Regions from separate parts of the Homo sapiens genome. Here all the other regions are linked to region 4. The links are contacts of gene promoters, found by promoter capture Hi-C in human tissues and cell types (Jung and others, 2019). All regions are on one chromosome and are shown on one strand. Each heading gives the region's core, a stretch centred on a gene start or on the middle of the fragment in contact. The rest is flanking DNA. Distances are from core to core; before and after follow the strand shown.

Evidence for each region. The method cuts DNA at HindIII sites, captures the fragments that hold promoters and counts their contacts. A contact is called where the count stands out against the background at its distance.
Region 1: the fragment with the promoter of AP1M1 here is called in contact with the fragment with the promoter of RASAL3 in region 4 in 1 of the 25 tissues and cell types used here (H1 embryonic stem cells).
Region 2: the fragment with the promoter of NDUFB7 here is called in contact with the fragment with the promoter of RASAL3 in region 4 in 2 of the 25 tissues and cell types used here (dorsolateral prefrontal cortex and thymus).
Region 3: a contact is called between a fragment that was not itself captured here and the fragment with the promoter of RASAL3 in region 4, in 1 of the 25 tissues and cell types used here (aorta).

The regions. Positions count from the first base shown.
Region 1 is chr19:16,196,206-16,201,271 of GRCh38, forward strand. It overlaps AP1M1 (adaptor related protein complex 1 subunit mu 1), which reads left to right and starts at 1,706. Exons shown (of 12, transcript NM_032493.4): 1 at 1,706-1,863. The coding sequence starts at 1,822. RefSeq lists a silencer at 1,850-2,089. The HindIII fragment of the contact is 7,648 bases long and covers 1-5,066 here.
Region 2 is chr19:14,569,178-14,573,823 of GRCh38, forward strand. It overlaps NDUFB7 (NADH:ubiquinone oxidoreductase subunit B7), which reads right to left and starts at 2,889. Exons shown (of 3, transcript NM_004146.6): 1 at 2,712-2,889. The coding sequence starts at 2,823. RefSeq lists an enhancer at 2,821-3,110. The HindIII fragment of the contact is 12,939 bases long and covers 1-4,646 here.
Region 3 is chr19:16,122,830-16,127,600 of GRCh38, forward strand. RAB8A (RAB8A, member RAS oncogene family) reads left to right here. Exons shown (of 8, transcript NM_005370.5): 4 at 2,641-2,718; 5 at 4,608-4,697. HSH2D-AS1 (HSH2D and RAB8A antisense RNA 1) reads right to left here. Exons shown (of 2, transcript NR_199156.1): 2 at 1-4,158. Among named protein-coding and RNA genes, the nearest start is that of RAB8A, 13 kb to the left of the region's middle. The HindIII fragment of the contact is 7,709 bases long and covers 1-4,771 here.
Region 4 is chr19:15,461,266-15,466,288 of GRCh38, forward strand. It overlaps RASAL3 (RAS protein activator like 3), which reads right to left and starts at 3,279. Exons shown (of 18, transcript NM_022904.3): 1 at 3,240-3,279; 2 at 2,766-3,112; 3 at 206-342; 4 at 1-31. The coding sequence starts at 3,093. RefSeq lists enhancers at 2,503-2,642, 2,743-2,872, 3,513-3,622. The HindIII fragment of the contact is 13,394 bases long and covers 218-5,023 here.

The DNA.
Region 1 (5,066 bases), core at 456-2,955, 730 kb after region 4:
GACCAACCCAAAATTACAAAGTCTTCCAGAGCTCATATACCTTCTAAGCTATATGTCTACGTGTAGGTGTGCATTCATCTAAAGACGTAAGTAAGTTATAGTCTTTTAACCCATAACTAAGATCTGAGTCCTGAAGACCTTCCTCTGGAGCCTCAGTAAATTTACTTAATCTAAGTGGGTCCAGGTGCTGGGGTGATTACCCTTATCTTATCTCCTGCTAAATCATGGAGGTTTGGGGGAGTTCCTTCAAACCCCAATAAACTTGTTTGTGGAGGCCTGAGGAGTTTCTTCAGACCGCCAATAAAGCTTGTTTAATCCTAAAAGGGTCCTGTTAAGAATTCCTTCATTATCTTGTCATGCTTCAAGGCCCAGGAAAGGCCTAGGCACAACTCTGGGTGGGCTTTTGTTACATCCCAGCCTTTGTATAAGGGCACTGGCTCTCTTATCTTTTAATATTTAACTTAACCCTTGTAATCCCAGCACTTTGGGAGGCCGAGGTGGGTGGATCACGTGAGGTCAGGAGTTTGAGACAAGCCTGGCCAACATGGTGAAACCACGTCTCTACTAAAAATACAAAAATTAGCTAGGTGTGGTGGCACATGCCTGTAATCCCAGCCACTTGAGAGGCTGACACACAAGAGAATCACTTGAACCCAGGAGGCAGAGGTTGCAGTGAGCCGAGATCATGCCATTGCACTCCAGCCTGGGTGACAGAGTGAGACTCCATCTCAAAAAAAAAAAAAAAAAAAAAAGCAAACAACAAAAACCCTCTCTTGGCTGCTTGCTCTGTGCCTTGAGCAAGAATCCTTCCAGCCCAGGAGTCACTTAGCAGTCTTCAAACATTCTAGTTTGCTTCTCTAGAGTTTCGGTCACATTTCTTTCCTAAGCAAAACACTATATAATTACCGAGTTGCAAAAATCATCTTTCCAAACGCCAAAACGGAGATAAGACAGAAAATAAAAGATGTGAGAGGCAGGCATCCTGGGTAAATCACTCTGGTATTGCAGGGTTGGGATCCCCAGGGTACTATGATGGCTAACTGGAACAGAATGCAGGCATTTCTCCAAAGCCCAAGAGTTCATAAAAGCAAATTAAATATGACTCAATGGATTAATCAAGGGCCACCAGTTGCATTACTGATTACTAACTTTGCAGAAATGAAACACGGTATGTTGGGTCAAGGTTCAGTGAGGCTGGTTTTCATAACATTCCAGGCAATAAACAGGCACACTCATTCATTGATAAATGTTGACAATGACAGGTGGTGACTGTTGATAAGGTTTGATTGCCATTCAGAAAGTTTGTTTGACCTCTTTCCAAGTAACCACGACCTTACCTCTCTCTTTTGAGCTTATCACAATTGGTGACTGTACACTTGTTTCATAGACTTCCCCACCAGACTGTGAGCTCCATAGGGCTGGGCCCCAGGTCGGTTTCACCACCAGGCTCTCTCGCCTAACTCGGCCCACGGGAGGCCGTTTCCAGCTGCTCTGGCTCCATAGCTCAGCCTGGCAGCGGCCACTGGGTGCCCTGATTTGGTCGGCCCCGCCCCACCGGGCCTTACTTCCGGGATGCTTCTGGCGGGAGCAAGAAACATGGTTACATACGACGTAATGCGCCTGCGCACAGTCCGTCCTGCGCCTGCGCATTCCTGACAGCACCTCCCGGACCGGACATAACGGTCCCCGCGCGGCTCCCCGAACCGGAAGTGGAGGTGAGCTGTCGCGGGCGGCGCCCGGCCTTGCTCAACGCCCAGCAGTCCCCACCGTCGCTGCCGCCGCCACCGCCCTCGGCCGCTGCCGAGGCCTCCTGCAGCCATCATGTCCGCCAGCGCCGTCTACGTGCTGGACCTGAAGGGCAAGGTACTGAGGGCTCCCCACCCTCCCTGTTGCCAGGCAACCGGCAGGGGCCTCCGCCCGCGGGGACCCACCCTGTTGCTAGGTAACCGGCTTATGAGCCCCATCCTGGTGTGAGGCAGAGAGGCCGGTAGACCTCACCTGAGAGCCCCATCCTGTTTCTGGGTAACCGGGCGGGGGTCTTAAGTGGGTAATCCCCGCCCTGTTGCTACGTAACGCGGTGGGCTGCAGCCACCGCGTTGCCAGGTAACTGACTGCACCGCCCTCTGCTCCCCGGCGCCGGGGCCGGGGGCTCGGGCCTCGGTGGAGGACCCAGAAGCGGGGCCGCAGCCGGCCTCGGAGCCAGGCAGGGCGTCCAGGGGCTGCGCGACCCTTGGCCGGGGGTGGCGAGGCGTGGCGGGGACTGGGTGCTCTCGAGCCAGTCCCGCCTTCTCAGGGCGTTACAGCTTCTGTTTATCGTGCACTTTCTCTCAGTAGGAATTTCTCCACGTTCATTGTGATAGTGAGTTACAAGGATTAGGTGAGGTGAGTGGTGATCACGAGTGCCGTTTTATAGAGGGAGAAACTGAGGCATGGAGAGGTGAAGCAACCTGACCAAGGTCACAATGGTCACAGAGAAGTAGCAAGTCTAGGAGTCCGATCCAGAATCATTCGTTTATTCAGCTGATATCTGGGGAGCACCTACTAATGCCGGGCAGGGTACTAAGCCTGGGGTCGATTTGTGTTTAGCAAAAAACAGTCCCTTTTTTTTTGTTTTGTTTTTGAGATAGTGTCATGCTCAGTCGTCCAGTCTGGAGTGTAGTGGTGCAATCTCCACTCACTGCAACCTCCGCCTCCCGGGTTCAAGCAATTTTCCTGCCTCAGCCTCCCAAGTAGCTGGGATTACAGGCACCTGCCACTACGCCGAGCTAAATTTTGTATTTTTAGTAGAGGCAGGGTTTCACCATGTTGACCAGGCTGGTCTCGAACTCTTGACCTCGAGTGATCCACCTGTCTTAGCCTCCCAAAGTGCTGGGATTACAGGTGTGAGTCATGTGCCAGGGCTCAACAATCTGTGTTCTTACGGTGTTCACAGGCTGGTAGGGGAGATGGATACCCATCTCCAAAAACACAAATAAATGTCAATTGCAGTGGTGTTGAGGGGCGAGTGTGTTATACAGACAGTCAGCCTCAGCCCGAGGATGAGAGAGGGTTTCCCTGAGGAGGGGTGACAAATGGACCAGAGACACCAGGGAGCTGGACATAAACTAGAACCCAGGCATCTTCCCCAGAGGATCTGAGAAAACTTTAAGAAGGGATTGTCCCCACCTTTTAGAAATGGTCCTCTGCCTTCTCCTAAGTCCATCCCAGGTGCAAGGCAGGTGGCTGCCTGGCCTGTTGCATGTGGAAGCAACAAGAACCGGTCCAACAATGTGAAGCCCAACATTGATCAGTGAGAGAAACAAACATGGGTGTCAGGTCCTAGGTGAGGCGGGCAGGGGTGAGCCCTAAAGCAGCTGAGAGTGAAGAGGTGAAATGGCTGCCCCTTCCCGCCCCACCCCACCCCCAGCACTTTCCTGAAGTCCCTTGAGTGGGTGCCTGCTCTGGAAGCCACCCAAAGTCAACAACTGGTGAGACCCAGTGCTGGGCTTCCCTCCCCCGCCTTCTTGGAAGGAGGGAAGACACCCGTCTTAGAGCACGCCAGGGGCTGGGTGGTGCGGTGGAATGAGTCCTGGTGGAATGAGTCTTGCTTCCACCCTGGCCACTGCCTCCCCAGAGGTGCCAGTGGGCTGCCTGTCTTGGCTTGCTTATTCCTTCAGCAAACATTTCATGAGCACCTAGCATGCACCCTGCCCTATGCCGGGCATAGGGTGTCCATTGGCGCCATGGCTGTGGTGTTAGGGGTGAGCTCAAAACCCATCCCTGCTGCTCAGCTGTGTGACCTGGGACAGGCACCTTCTCCTGTCTGAGCCTCACTTTCCTCACTGGTCAAAAGAGGCTTTTATGGAGTTATTGTGCAGATTTGCTGAGCAGATGCATGAGACAGGCTCAGCACCACCCATGGTCCATGTTAGCTCTCCCAGGCCTCTCGGTCTAGCAGGGGAGTCACCTAGAAGCAGAGACATTACCACACAGTTGGATCCAGGCAGCCACAGGGGCAGGAACAAGGTCCCAAGTCCTGCAGTTGCTCAACCTCATCTTTAGCCAGTGGAAGGGGGAGGTGGTTATGAAAGGCTCCCTGAAGAGGGCGACGCTGGAAGTAGGTTTGGAAGGCACGATCATGTGGAAAAGAGGTGTTGCAAGGGGCAGCCTGCTGGGGCTGCCAAGCCAGAAGTCCTGGCTAATGCTGAGATGGGAGAGAGGGACCAAGGGGACCACTTCAGTTCCAACCAGGAGCCACCGTGAGGAGACCGTAGCCCAGAGAGGCATGATCAGACCTGCCTTTCAGAAAGCTCCCCAAGGCAGCCGTGGGCTTCCTTCCCTTCCTCTGCAACCATGATGCCCTTTCTTATTCCACGACCCACGGACCTCCTGTTTCCAAAGTCAGCCTCGTGAGCCGACTGCATTTAATCAACAATAAAGCACACTGAGAAATTCATGGCCACGTGTCTGGTCACCGAGGACACCAGCGTGGCCACACTGGGCTGGGAGGAAGCTGTCCTAGTAGGAAGCTTCTCCGCTTTATCTAACTGGCTTCTCAGCAGCTTCTGACACCACTAACCACCTCCTCTTCAGTGCTCCCTTCCGCTTCCAGGAGGCTGCGCTCTGGGGGGTTTCCTCCTGTTTCTTGCACTGCCTACTTTCCTCCTTTTCTGCCCTCCCCAGGGCTGTGGAGCGGCTCAGGCCTACGCGTGCCTCCCCATGCTGTCACTCTTCCCAGGTGGGCTTTGACTCATGTCCATGGGCCAGTGACTCTCAATTTTGTTCACAGCATTTCTCTGGAGATCTAGTGGCCTCTGAGACACCAGAGAGGTCCCGCCGCCACCATAAATTCAGCATTCTTCTAAATGCACTCCCTGTACCTGCTCTCTTTCCATTTCAGTGATGCCATCACCCATTCAGCCATCTGCACAAGAGACCTGGACGTTATCCTCGCCTCCTTTGTCTCCTCACCCCTGTTTTCACTCCACAAATGTTTACTGAGCACCTACTATGGTCCAGGCCCCTTTCTGGGTGCTGGAAAACAGCTGTGAATGAGACAGGAGTAGTTGCTGTTCTCAGGGGATGTC
Region 2 (4,646 bases), core at 1,639-4,138, 890 kb before region 4:
ATCTAGGAGGGAGGGAGAGAGTGAAGGATCCGGGAGGTAAGAGAAAGGCCAGGCACCATAAAGAGTCCACTGGAGTACCAATCGGGAGACCGGTCAGCAGGGACTGCAGGAATGCGCCACCACACCCAGCTAATTAAAAAATAAAAATAAAAAATTGTAGAGACAGGGCCTTGCTATGTTGCCCAGGCTGTTCTTGAACTTCTGGCCTTGAGCAATCCTCCTGCCTTTGCCTCCCAAACCGTTGGGATTACAGGCATGAGCCATTTTGCCTGGCTTAGAGCTGTTTTTTTCTTATCTCCCCGCCCCCCATTATGTTCAGTTGCACGGGGATAGGCACCAAGGAAGGGAAAGAGGTGAGTTTATCCAGAGTAAGCAAGAGAGAAGGGCAGCAGGTTGCTAGCGTTTGCAAAGCTGATCTTGGGGAAAGCAAGGTATGTGAGGCAGTGGGAGGAAGGTGGACGGACCAATGAACTGCAGGTTCAGCTGGGGCGGAAGGACTACCCGGAGTGTGGACACTGGAGTGATTATACCATCTCCCAACTTTCTCTCAAATCCAGGCTGCTTAGAGGTCTCTGTCTCAAGCTTGTCGCCCACTCAGTAGACAGTGTGACCTTTTGACCAACCAAAACTGATTGTGTCCCTCCTCTGCTTAGAAGCTTGGCTCTGCCACCTCTCTTTGGTCAACCCCTACTCATGCCCCTTCACATCTTTGTTTTGTTTTGTTTTGTTTTTTCAGACAGTCTCGCTCTGTCACCCAGGCTGGAGTGTGGTGGCCTGACCTTGGTTCACTGCAACCTCTGCCTCCTGGGTTCCAGCCAATTCTCCTGCCTCAGCCTCCCAGACAGCTGGGATTACAGGCATGCGCCACCACACCTGGCTAATTTTTGTATTTTTAGTAGAGTAGAGACGGGGTTTCACCATGTTGGCCAGGCTGGTCTCAAACTCCTGACCTCAGGTGATCCACCGGCCTTGGCCTCCCAAAGTGCTGGGATTACAGGCATAAGCCACCGTGCCCGGCTTAATTTTTGTATTTTGTTTTTGAGATGGAGTCTTGCTCTGTCGCCCAGGCTGGAGTGCAGTGGTGTGATCTCGGCTCACTATAACCTCTGCCTCCTGGGTTCAAGCGATTCTCCTGCCTCAGCCTCCTGAGTAGCTGGGACTACAGGTGTGCACCACCACGCCCCTGGCTAATTTTTGTATTTTTAGTAGAGACAGGGTTTCACCACATTGGCCAGGATGGTCTCAATCCCCTGACCTCGTGATCTGCCCGCCTCGGCCTCCCAAAGTGCTGGGATTATGGGTGTGAGACACCATGCCCGGCCTCAATTTTTATATTTTTAGTAGAGATGGTGTTTCACCATGTTGGCCAGGCTGGTCTCAAACTCCTGACCCCAGGTGATCTGCCCGCCTTAGCCTCCCAAAGTGCTGGGATTACAGGCATGAGCCACCACGACCGGCCACCCTTCACGTCTTTGTTTCCAGCCACTGCCTCTTGGAAGCCTGCTTTGACACCCCCAGCTCTGCCTGATTCCACAATCTTTCCCACTGTGCTGAGTTCTCTGGAGACAGTGCCTGCATCCCTCCAGTTCCCTGCTGTATCCGCGGTGCCTAATGTGGGACGTGGCCCAGAGCTGGTGCTCGGTATGCCTGTGATATTACTACATTAAAAGCAAAAACAAACACACGAACCAAAAAACCATCCTGGGCGTAGTGGCTCACATCTTCAATCCCAGCACTTTGGGAGGCTGGGCAGAAGGATCGTTTGAGCCCAGGAGTTTGAGACCAGCCTGGGCAACACAGCAAGACCCCCAACTCTACAAAAAATAAAAAATCAGTCTGGCATCCTGGGGCGCTCCTGTAGTCCCAGCTACTCGGGAGGCTGAGGCGGGAGGATCATTTGAGCCCAGGAGGTCGAGGATGCAATGAGCTGTGATTGTGCCACTACACTCAGCCTGGGCAACAGAGCAAGATCCCGTCTCAAAGCAAAACAAAGCACTTTGCAGGACAGTATTTGCAGCTCGAATCTTCCTTATTTCCTTGTGCATACCCCACAATTGCAGTGACATCAGGAAGGGGGTACAATGAACGTGTCCCTGCCCTCCCATGACTCCCCACGTCCCCCAAGACTTGGCCCGAGGCCGGGCGTGGTGACTGACTTCTGCGATCCCAGCACTTGGGGAGGCCGAGGCGGGCGGATCACTTGAGGTCAGGAGTTCAAGAGCAGCCTGGCCAACAAGGAGAAACCCCGTCTCTACTAACAATACAAAAAAGTAGCTGGGCATGGTGGTACACATCTGTAATCACAGCTACTCGCGAGGCTGAGGCAGGAGAATCGCTTGAACCCGGGAGGTGGAGGCTGCCAGTGAATCGAGACCAAGCCACTGCACTCCAGCCTGAAAGAAAAAGCGAGACTCCGTCTCAAAAGAAAAAAAAAAAAGACTCGACCCAGCTCTGCGCGTCGCATTCCTGCCCGAACCCCCACTTGTCGCCTCACTTTTGCTCCCTGGCTTTTGCTCAAGCCGTGCCCTTGGGCTGGAACGCCTCCACACTGAGGTGGGGTCATGCACGTCCTGTGGACTCCTAGTCTAGACCCAAACCCAGATACAACACCTGAGGTTAGAGCCCAGCCCTGGGGTGCCAGCCCTGGGGTGCCAGGTGTTCAGGCACCCGCGCCCCACGCCCTCTGGCTGCGCCTGCGCACTGGGCCTCACCGCGCTCCTTGCGTTCGGGGAAGCCGTAGTCTGGCGGGAAGGTTGGCATCTGCAGGGGGTCGGGCTCCACCGAGGCATCGCCCAGGTAGCGCCGGACCAGGTGGGCCCCCATGGCTGCAGTCGCTGCAGATCCCTGCAGCAGCCGAGGGTCACCTAGCTCCTACCCGGAACCACTGACCCCTCAGTCAGACACAGCTTCCGGGTCATTTAGGCAGCTGCGGAGATCATAGAGATGAAGGACTCCAGAGGATCGCTCCGGTCCGCCTGGCGTCACCTCGCGGACAGGCGGAGGCGGGACAGGTGCTGTGTCTCTTCGCAGGATATGGTTGGACCCGAGAGGGGACTTCCCTGAGCCTGGAAATCCATCTGGGCGGGGCAGAAGGGGACGGTGTGGGACTGAGGCCTCCCTCGACCCTATCTGGGGCTCTTCTGGTAGCCCGAGGCTAAAGCACATATTAAAATTATTTTTCATATCATTTTCCAAAAAGTTTTTTCTTTGAAAACATTCAAATTTCTCTTAAAAAAGGCACGATATCTATTATATCGTTAATGTATGTAATTTTGCATAAAGTCACTTTAAGAATTTTTTGTTTTTGGAGACACAGTACCTGTCGCCCAGACTGGAGTGTATTGGCGCGATCTCGGCTCACTGCAGCCTCCACCTCCTGGGCTCAAATTCTCTTGCCTCAGCCTCCTGAGTAGCTGGGATTACAGGCGCCCGCCACCACCCCCAGCTAATTTTTGTATTTTTAGTAGAGACGGGGTTTCGCCAGTTGGCCAGGCTGGTCTCGAACCCCTGACCTCAAGTGATTCCCCCGCCTCAGCCTCCCAAATTGCTGGGATTACGGGCATGAGCCACAGTGCCTGTCCAAGAAAGATTTTGATAAATTTAATTTAAATAAAAGTTATTCATAAATACAGTTATTATTATATTATTATTTTTTGAGATAGGGTCTCATTCTGTCGCCCAGGCTGGAGCACAGTGGCACAATCATAGCTCACTGCAACCTTGAACTCTTGGGCTCCAGGGATCCTCCCGCCTCAGCCTCTCAAAGTGTTGGGATTATGGGCGTAAGCCACTGTGCCTGGTCAAAAACAATTATTTAAAGCTGAAATTTCAAATAAATTATATATATATATGCAATCTTTATACAATTTTAAAATATATTAATATCTAATATTAATATCTAATATATATTTTTCCCCAGTCTGACAAAGCATGTATTAGGCATCTACTGTATGGTATGCTGGGTCCAGTGGTCAGACAGAAAGGCAGACGTGGTTCCTGTCTTTCAAGCTTACAGTCTAATGGAACAGAAAAACAGTCTAATGGAAAAAAAAAAATATGGGCCAGGGCAGTGGCTCACACCTGTAATCTCAGAGCTTTGGGAAGCTGAGATGGGAGGATCGCCTGAACTCAGGAGTTTGAGACCAGCCTGGGCAATATAGGGAGACTCTATCTCTACAAAAAAAAAAAAAAAAAAAAAAGCTGGGTGTGGTGGTGCACGCTTGTAGTCCCAGCTACTCGGGAGGCTGAGGCAGGAGGATAACTTGAGCCCAGGAGTTCCAGGCTGCAGTGAGCCGTGATCCCATCACTGCACTCCAGCCTAGGCAACAGAGTGAGACCCTGTCTATAAAAATTCCCAGGTGATGTGATGTTGCTGGTCTAGTGACCAGCTTTGGGAGAATTACTCAACTAGATCTTTATGTGTTGACATGGGGAAGTGGCTGCTGATATATTAAGTGAAAAAAGCAAGCTATTGAGAATAGACAACTGGCAATAGAGACTTTTCTTTTTCTTTCTTTTTTTTTTTTTTTTTTGAGACAGAGTTTCACTCTTGTTGCCCAGGCTGGAGTGCAGTGGTGTGATCTCGGCTCACCGCAACCTCCGCCTTCTGGTTTCAAGCGATTCTCCTGCCTTAGCCTCCTAAGTAG
Region 3 (4,771 bases), core at 1,561-4,060, 660 kb after region 4:
TGTATTTCTTTCCCCCCACCTCACAGTTCTCTGGTGGAGGGTGGGCAGGCGGCCTGAGGGCACTGGGGTCTTGGGGAGCTTCAGCCTCTGGAGAAAACTGTGACCTGGGGCCTGTCCCGATCTTCTCTGGGCCCAAATAGCCACCTTCCACCCTGCCCTGACCACCAAGCCCTCCCCTGCACCAGGCAGTGGGCCCAGGTCTTAGCTCAGATTATCTCATTGCATTTTGGCTGTGAACCTCTTTGTGCAGGCGCCATTGTCATCCCTGTTTTATAACAAAGAACCTGAGGTTTGGCCCGGTGGCCTGCCCCGCTGAAGTTCACTCAGCAGGTAAATGGCTAGGCTGGGCTGGGCTGTTTGTCTCTAGCACCCACATCCTCAACCAGCACCAAGATGATCGTGGCTTTCCATCCTCCTAGACCCAGGCCAACCTGAACAGATGCCACCACTGGCTGCATGTGGCTATTTGAATTTACCCAATTAACATTGAAAATCCAGCCAGGCGCAGTGGCTGATGCCTGTAATCCCAGCACTTTGGGAGGCCGAGGTGGGTAGATCTCTTGAGGTCAGGAGTTGGAGACCAGCCTGGCCACATGGTAAAATTCCATCTCTACTAAAAATACAAAAATTAGCTGGGCGTGGTGGCGGATGCCTGTAATCCCAGCTACTCAGGAGGGTGAGGCAGGAGAATCGCTTAAACCTGGGAGCCGGAGGTTGCGGTGAGCCGAGGTTGCACCACTGCACTCCAGTCTGGGCAGCAGAGCAAGTATCCGTCGCTTAACTACTTAATTAATTAATTAATTTTAAAAAACATTGAAAATCCAGCTCCTTGGGTCAAAGCAGCTATGTTTCTGATGCCCTAGAGCCTTGTGTAGCCAGTATCAGTCATATGGGACAGCACCACCATTGCAGCTGTGTCCTCATCTCTGTCAGCATGCTCATAGACCCTTGGGCCTCAAAATCCCAAGTTTGGGAAGCATTGGATGCCTAGAGACCCATGGTGAGGTTTGCCCAGACGGGGCCCTGGAAAATAGTCACTTGGAGCCCTGAGGGGTGTTTCCAGGAAAACCTGGAATAGGATGGCTGGCTCAGTGTTTTCCAGGTGCTTCTGCTTGATTCTAAGAGAGAGCTCTACCCACTGCCCCACTAACGTCCAGGTTCTCCCCTCAGCTCCCTGAAATAGGTATAATCCAGGAATTTGAGTCTTAGGCACATGTCACCAACTTAGTGGTGAAGGCAGGAATCCTGGGCTTTCAGAGGGTCCAGTCCCCGGATAAAGGGCCCCACGCCCCCTGTCCCTGACCATGTCACAGTCACAGGGTGTGCCCACCGTGGATGGGGCATGGCAGACATCATGGGCCACTGCAGCCTTGAGGTTCTTCGCCATGGTTGCGGCTGACTGTGAGGCCATTATTCATGTCCCTGAATTCCCAGGAGGATTTGGGGTTGCAGTGACTTTCTTGCCCCATCTGTGTCGTTTTTGTCCCACACTCTTGCACCCACATCTGTCTCACCATTACCACATGGCCCGTGTCCTTATTCTGCAAACTTGGATGGCCCCAGACAACTTGGCCAGCAGCAGAAGTCATCAGTGCCCTCAGGTGCCACAGATGCAGGGCTGGGCCTGGGGAGCAGGTAGCGAGGAGGAAGGAAGAAATCCAGGCCTGGCCATGAGCAGGCCACGTGCCTTGGAGCCCAGGATGCCCGGCAACAAAGGGGGACTTGTGATGGCACTGCAGGCTGGCCCGCTGTGGGCACTCCACAAGGACATCGAGAACCACACAGACCGTCAGAGGGTGGCCCCCACATGTGGGTTCTGGGGCTGAAAAAGGCCCAGGGATATTGCTGAGAGGATAGGTGTCATCAGTGCTTTTGGAGTTAGCCCCCCCCCGCCCCCCGTGCTTGAATCTTAAAGGTCACGTCTCTGTGCCTCAGTTTCCCCTTGCATCGCATGGGCATGTTTGCGCTTGTCCACAGCAGTAGCGAGGCTGTGGACCCAGGCTGAGGCGGGGCTGCCCCGAAGCTCTTCCAGGACCCACGAGCCGTCTCCCAGTTGCTCACGTCTAGGTTAGGGAACTGGAAGGGCCTTGGCACTCTCGGCTCCATCTTCACACAGCCGGTTCCCTCTGTGGTGGGGTCACTGGAAGTTGTGTGGATGTCGGGTCAGGACTTCCTGGGCTCAGTTGTGCCTGGTAGGTGGCTCAGGCAGAGCGTGGGGTGAGCAAGGGGTGAAGAGGAGGCCGATTGCAGGGGAGGGTCAGCGTGAGGGGAGTGCTGCTGGCAGTGGGCCTGTGGACCGGCTCCCACCGTCAGGCTGCACCACCCCGTGGGCCATGAGGGGAGCCAGCCGGGCTTGTCAGCGAGTGCGTGGCAGGGGCTGGCCTGTGAGGCAGAAGGGTCACCTCAGCGGCCCGGGGGGCAGGACAAGGCTGGTGCCAGAACCCAGCAGAAAGAAGGGCCACAGGGATGGAGAGGAGGGGGCTGGCTTCCGGGGCTCCACAGAGGTGGGGAGGGCGGCAGCTAATGGGCCTGGCTGTGCAGTGGGTGCTGGGCTCCCCACCACTGTTCTCTGGTGCCGCTGAGGCCTCCCTTCCAGAGCCTGCAGCCGATCAGGCACCTGTGTCTTCTCTCCCCGCGCAGGGCATCATGCTGGTCTACGACATCACCAACGAGAAGTCCTTCGACAACATCCGGAACTGGATTCGCAACATTGAGGAGGTGAGGCCCTCCGGCTCCTCCCACTGTCCCTGCTTCAGTCCTTGTCCCAGAGCCCTCTGGTTTACTCATGAGAAGGCCAAGGTGCAGAGACACATACAGGCCACTTGCCCACAGCCTCCTAGTCAGGGACATGGTGGGAGCAGGGACTGAGATGCAAGCAGCCGGCCCCAGGGACCACACACTGGCCTGGCCCCACCCCGGAGCCCCTCGGAGCCCATCCCTCCAGCTAGGCTGTTGGATCTGGCCAGTGTCATGGTTATAAGAGAAAGGATATCCAAGCTTGTGGTCACCATGAGTGTTGGGTGCTTTCTAGAGAAGGAAGGGTCTAGCACAGGTGTGACCCTTGTAGTTGGAGGGTGTGGTGAGCAGGCGTCAGTTGTACTTTGAGCTATATCGGAGCAGGGTGTGACCTGGTACAAACGACCTGTGTTCAGACCTTGAACCATAGAGCAGTGAGAAGTAGGCCAACCCCTCCTCCCCTCCCAAAGCCAGCATCTTCATCTTCTGCTCCCCAAAGAGCTGACCTCACCCCCAAAGCCTTCCTGGCTGCCGGCACCTGCAGCTTTCTATAACTAACCATGTGGGGCTTCAGGTCTGAGGCACAGCCAGAGAACTTTTCCCATCTATAAAACCACAGCAAAAGGGCATATCACTGTCCACCCAGGACTCATGGACCTCCCAGGCCAGGCCGAGAGGCCACCCCATCATTTGTGAGTCATTGCACTGGGCTCACCTCCCCAGTGACCCTGAGAGGGCTGTGCTGCCAAATTTGCCAGTGCAGGGCTGCACCCCAGCTGGGAAAGCTGTCTTCATCCGTGGAGAGGAGGAGAGCCTGGTCTTTGTGAAAGGTCTCTGTTTCTGGCCAGCGGGCAGGAGCCACCTTCTGGTTCATGGGAAGTGAGGCAGGGAGTGGCGCAGTAGGTTCCAGAGACCAAGTCTGAGCTGGTGGAAGAAGACAGCAGTTTCCAGTGTCCCCGTCCTCCAGGAAGCGTGGTCCGCTCCATGGGGACCCAGGGAGACTTGACGAAGGAGCTGCCTTTGGGTATGAGGGCAGAGTTTGGGCAACATCAGACAGGGTGGTGAAGTGCCTGCAGCTGGTGACGGCCTCGAGTTGCGACCACCTCAGGCACGGCCTGTTTCTGGAGCCCAAAAATAGTTGAAATGTCAGGGCCAGGCGAGGTGGCTTATGCCTGTAATCCCAGCAGTTTGGGAGGCTGAGGCGGGCAGATCACCTGAGGTCAGAAGTTTGAGACCAGCCTAGCCAACATGGCGAAACTCTGTCTCTACTAAAAATACAAAAAATTAGCCTGGTATGGTGGCAGATGCCTGTAATCTCAGCTATTCGGGAGGTTGAGGATCGCTTGAACCTGAAGGCAGAGGTTGCAGTGAGCCGAGATCATGCCACTACACTCCAGCCTGGGAGACAGAACGAGACTCCATCTCAAAAAAAAACAAAAAAAAAAGTGTCAAAGCAGAAGGTCCCAGGACAACAGCTGGGGCCTCTTGCAGAGGAGCCAGGGAGGGAAGGAGGAAAGCCAAGGTCGGGGGGTAAATATCTCAGCCTCACTCACCTCCCATAGGCTAGACCCGCCCAGCATCCCAGGTGCGGGGGCTTGATTGATACAGCCATAGAAGCTGCCAGAAAGCATTTCAGAAAATGTGCATTTGCTCAGAGTAGCAGCTAGAACCCTGGCCCCAGCCCTGGCATTGGCTGTGTGACATGGGGCCGGCTGCTTGGCCTCTCTGAGCTTCAGCTTGTCCCTTAGACCAGGCTGTACCTAGCAGTCCTGACCCCACCGCTCTGATTTCTGGGGACAGACTGTGTGTTGGCAGAGGCACCTGGCCTGTGTCATCCGGTCTGATCCCCCGTCTGTCCCCCTCCCTCTCAGCACGCCTCTGCAGACGTCGAAAAGATGATACTCGGGAACAAGTGTGATGTGAATGACAAGAGACAAGTTTCCAAGGAACGGGGAGAAAAGGTGGGCATGGTGGCACAAGGGGCAGAGGGCCTCGGGGTCTTGGGGTTCTTGTGCAGAGGCCTTCCCCTGTCCCT
Region 4 (5,023 bases), core at 2,029-4,528:
TAGCACTTCCCACCCGGGGCCTTCGAGGACCCTGTTCTCCCGCAGGAGTGGGTAGTCAGAGAGGGGAGGCAGGCAGGCAGGCAGGCAGGCAGACCGAGGGAGAGGCAGACACCTTCCCATTATCCTCCCTCCAGCCCCTGCCTCTGTTCTGCCCTCCTCCTTTTTCTTTCTTCCCTCCTCCCCTTTCCCAGGTGCCCCCTCTCACCTCCTCCTCTCCTCCAAGCAGCACCAGCTTCCCATCAAGCAGGGTGAAGCCCCCAATGTCCCAGACAGGCACGTTGGGTGTGGGGGCCTCAGGGATCTGTGGGGTAGGGGGCTCCAGCTCTGGCTCCGGCTCCAGCTCTGGGAAGAAGAGGAGGCACTGGGGGACTTAAGAGACGTTTTCTCTCCCTCAGGCTACCCTTTCCATTCCCGAAGGCTCATGGTGGGTTCCCTCCTAGGTGCCCCCCACCCCAGCAGCCGTATCAGACTGTATGACCTTGGGCAAGCTTTCATCGCTGTCTGGGCCTTGTCCCCACTAACCATGGGTAGCAGACACAACTCACCTACCATGTGCCCAGTACCCTGTATACCACTCCACACACCTTCTTGCATTGAATCCTCCAAAAGCCATTCAAAGGGCTATGATAACAGGCTCAGAGAGGTTGAGTGACTTGCTCAGGGTCACACAGTTTGTGAGTGGTTGGGCTGGGCTTCAGTCACAAGCATTCTTCTCTCTCTCTCTTTTTTTGTTTTTTTGTTTTTTTTGCATTCTTCTCTTAACCAAGACATTATGTGGGTCCAAGAGGTTAAAAAACAGGACAGGGGCTGGGCAAGGTGGCTCATGCCTGTAATCCCAACATTTGGGAGGCCGAGGTGGGGCAGATTGCTTGAGACCAGGAGTTTGAGACCAGCCTGGGCAACATAACAAGACCCTGTCTTTAAAAAATAGCCTGATGTGCCTGGGCTCTGTGGCTCACACCTGTAATCCTAGCACTTTGGGAGGCCTAGGCGGGTGGATCATCTGAGGCTGGGAGTTCAAAACCAGCCTGACCAACATGGAGAAACCCCGTCTCTACTAAAAATACAAAATTAGCCAGGCGTGGTGGCACATGCCTGTAATCCCAGTTACTCAGGAGGCTGAGGCAGGAGAATCTCTTGAACTTGGGAGGCAGAGGTTGCAGTGAGCTGAGATTCCGCCACTGCACTCCAGCCTGGGCAAGGAAGTGAGACTGTGTCTCAAAACAAAAACAAAAACAAAAACAAAATGGGAATATAAGCAGTGAGAATTAAATGAGCTTCCAGGAAATAGGAGGGCTGAATTAGCCCTCCCAGATTGCCTGTCTGTTCCCTTGTTTTTACCACCAGGAGCAATAAATGATAACTCCCGCTTATTAACGGATCACTTAAAATATGTTGGGCCTGGGGCCGGGCGCGGTGGCTCACGCCTGTAATCCCAGCACTTTGGGAGGCTGAGGCGGGCGGATCATGAGGTCAGGAGATCGAGACCATTCTGGTTAACACAGTGAAACCCTGTCTCTACTAGAAATACAACAATTAGCTGGGCATGGTGGCGGGTTCCTGTAGTCCCAGCTGCTCAGGAGGCTGAGGCAGGAGAATGGCGTGAACCCAGGAGGCGGAGCTTGCGGTGAGCCGAGATCGCGCCACTGCACTCCAGCCTGGGCAACAGAGCGAGACTCCATCTCAAAAAAAAAATAAAAAAAATGCTGGGCCCTAGGCTAGTGTTACATTCCTGAGCCCTAATTCTTGTGATATCCATTACTCTTCTAGATCCCCCTGTGTGACACTTAGCACCATCTGTCATTTTTTTTCTTTCTTTTTTTTTTTTTTCTTCCATTGAGATGGAGTCTCCCTCTGTCGCCCAGGCGGGAGTGCAGTAGTGCAATCTCAGCTCACTGCAACCTCCACCTCCCGGGTTCAAGCGATTATCCTGCCTCAGCCTCCTGAGTAGCTGGGAGTACAGGTATGTGCCACCATGCCTAGATACTTTTTTTTTTTTGTATTTTTAGTAGAAACAGGGTTTTGCCATGTTGGCCAGGCTGGTCTCGAACTCCTGAGCTCAGGTGATCCACCCACCTTGGCCTCCCAAAGTGCTGGGATTACAGGTGTGAGCCATCATGCCTGGCCCATCTGTCATTTTCTTGTTGATGGATTTCCTGTCAATTCCACTACACTGTGAGCTCCATGGGGCAGGGAGGGTCATCTGTCTCTTTCACTAGTGTGTCCTCAGTGCCTAAATCAGGGCCTGGCACATACAATAGAAGCTCAACAAACCTCTGCTTGAATAAATGAATGAATATGAGCAAATAAAATTATATACTCTCCAAAATGGAGATCATTATTCTCACTGAACTGATGGAGAGGCTGAGGCTTAAGGGCTCAGAACAAAGACACGGAAGCTAGAAGGTAGGAGAGTAGGAGGCAGGCTGAAGATGGATATCCAGGTAGGAAAGGATGGGCCTGAGCCATTGAAGGAGAGACCCGTTGGGGCCAAGAGCCGTTTAGCCTCTGGACAATACTATCACGGGTTTACATTCACTGTTCCTTCCTCAGATGGACCCTCTGCCCACAGGACCCCGGCAACTCCTCCTACCCTCTTTAGGGGGAAAGAGGGAACAGGGTAGCTGGGCCCCAGCGGCTTCCTGCTGGGCTTTTGCACTCCCCACAACTTCCTGTGTCTGTATGGTTGATGCTCCGGAGGCAGACAAAACCCAAGCATCCGGCTTCCCAGCCCGGCCCAAGCTCAGGGTGGGGGAACCATGTACCTGGGGCCTCCTGCTCCGGCTCCGGGTCTGGCTCCGGCGGTGGGTTCTTATGCCTCCCCCAGAGGGCCTTGGAGAGTCGAAGGCGACTGGTCCGTGACTCCTTGGGAGGCGCAGATAGGACCCGACGGAATATCGAGCGAGGGGCTGGCTGGGTGCTGACCATGGGCTCCTGGTGGCTCAGGGCCCTGCCCCAGCCAGCAAAGCGGCCCCAGCGGAACCCTCCAGCCGCCTTCTCCCCACCGCCCCCTGTGTGCCAGCGGTAGGAAGTCAGCGGAGAGGTGGCTGTGGGCTGGGTTTGGGAGGTCCGGCTTGGCGACGGTGGGTCCATGGTTGGGGGGGGGGGTCTCCTGGGGGACGAGAGAGTGACAGTAGTGCCCAGTGTCTGTCCACATACTGCCCTCATCTCGGCCCCCTCCCCACCCTCAGCTCTGCCTCCAGGAATCCCCCTGCCCCCACCTCCACTCCCTCCCTTACCTTGGTTTCCTGACCAGCCCCAGAATCAGCAGCCGTCTGCACCCCGCCTGGCTTCCTCCCTCGGAACCCAACTCCACGTGACCCTCTCTGTCCCACCCCACCCCACAGCCAGGCTGGGAGGGCACAGTGCGGGCAGGTTGCTGGAGGTTCGAGGGAGGAGAAGAGAGGAGGTGGGTTACCAGGCTTCTAGCAAGAAGGACCCAGACTGCCTCCCTGACGGGGAGGCAGCACTTGCCCCTCTCTCTGAGCCTCCGTTGCCTTCTCTGCAAAATGAGTACAGGCTGAACAAATGCTGGCGAGAATACAAAGCACCTAGAACTCTAATCCACAGTTGGCCGGAGTGTAGACCCATTCACTCATGTTGGGAAACGGTTTGGCAGGATCTACTAACACTACTAGCTGGATCTTCTCTGACTCAGCAATTCCATTGCTAGGTAGACGTCCAATAGATATGCCCCCCCAGCACAATGCATAATAGCCCCACATTGGAAGCAGCCTAAGTACCCATTAGTGGGAGAAGGAATAAATTGTGATCTCTTCGCACAGCAGAATATCATACAGCAGTGAGAACAAACTAAAGAATGATTTAACTTGGGTGAATCACAAACAATGTTGAGCCAAAACCAAAACCAAAGCCATAAAATGCCAGTAATCTGAGCTATTCAGGAGGCTGAGGGAGGAGGATCGCTTGAGGCCAGGAGTTCGAGGCTGCAGTGAGCTGTGATCATGCCTGTGAATAGGCAGTGCACTCCAGTCTGGGTGACATAGGGAGACCTCATATCTAACTTTTTTTTTTCTTTTTCCCCTCCCTGCCCTCGGGAGACCCCATCTCTAAAAAGCAATAATAAATAAATTTAAAAACCCCAAAACAATGAAGAGTATACACTTTGTGATTCCATTTACATAAAGTCCTAAAGCAGGCAAAACCATGTCTAACAAGCAGGGTATCAGTTTCTTTTGGAGGCACTGGTGGCTGGGAAGAGGGTACAAGGGGGGCTTCTGGAAGATGGCAAGATTTATTATTACTCTTATTATTATTAATTGATTTATTTATCGAGAAGGAGTTTCGCTCTGTCTCCCAGGCTGGTGTGCAGTGGCACGATCTTGGCTCACTGCAATCTCTGCCTCCCGGATTCAAGTGATTCTCCCTACTCAGCCTCCTGAGTAGCTGGGACTACAGGTATTCACCACCATGCCTGCCTAATTTTTTTGTATTTTTAGTAGAGACGGGGTTTCACCATGTTGGTCAGGCTGGTCTTGAACTCCTGACCTGAAATGATCTGCCCGCCTTGGCCTCCCAAAGTGCTGGTATTATAGGCGTAAGCCACCGTGCCCGGCCCTTATTATTATTATTATTTATAAATGAGGTCTATAAAAATAATATAGATCTCATAAAATAAAAATATAATATTTATATTACATAGTAATATAAATAATATTACATTATACATAATATGAATATTATTATTTTTTGTAGATGAGGTCTGTCATCCAGGCTGGAGTGCAGTGGTGCCATCATAGCTCTCTGTAACCTCTAACTCCTGGGCTCAAGAGATCCTCTCGCCTTAGCCTCCTGAGTAGCTGGGACTACAGCTGCATGCCACCACACCTGGCTTATTAAAAACAATTTTTTTGTTGTTGTTGAGATGAGGGTCTTGCTTTGTTGCCCAGGCTGTTCTTGAACTCCTGGCCTCAAGTGATCCTCCCACCTCAGCCCCCTAAGTAGCTGGGATAATAGGCACATGCTACCATGCCTGGCCTATTTTTTTTTTAATTGAGGTAAA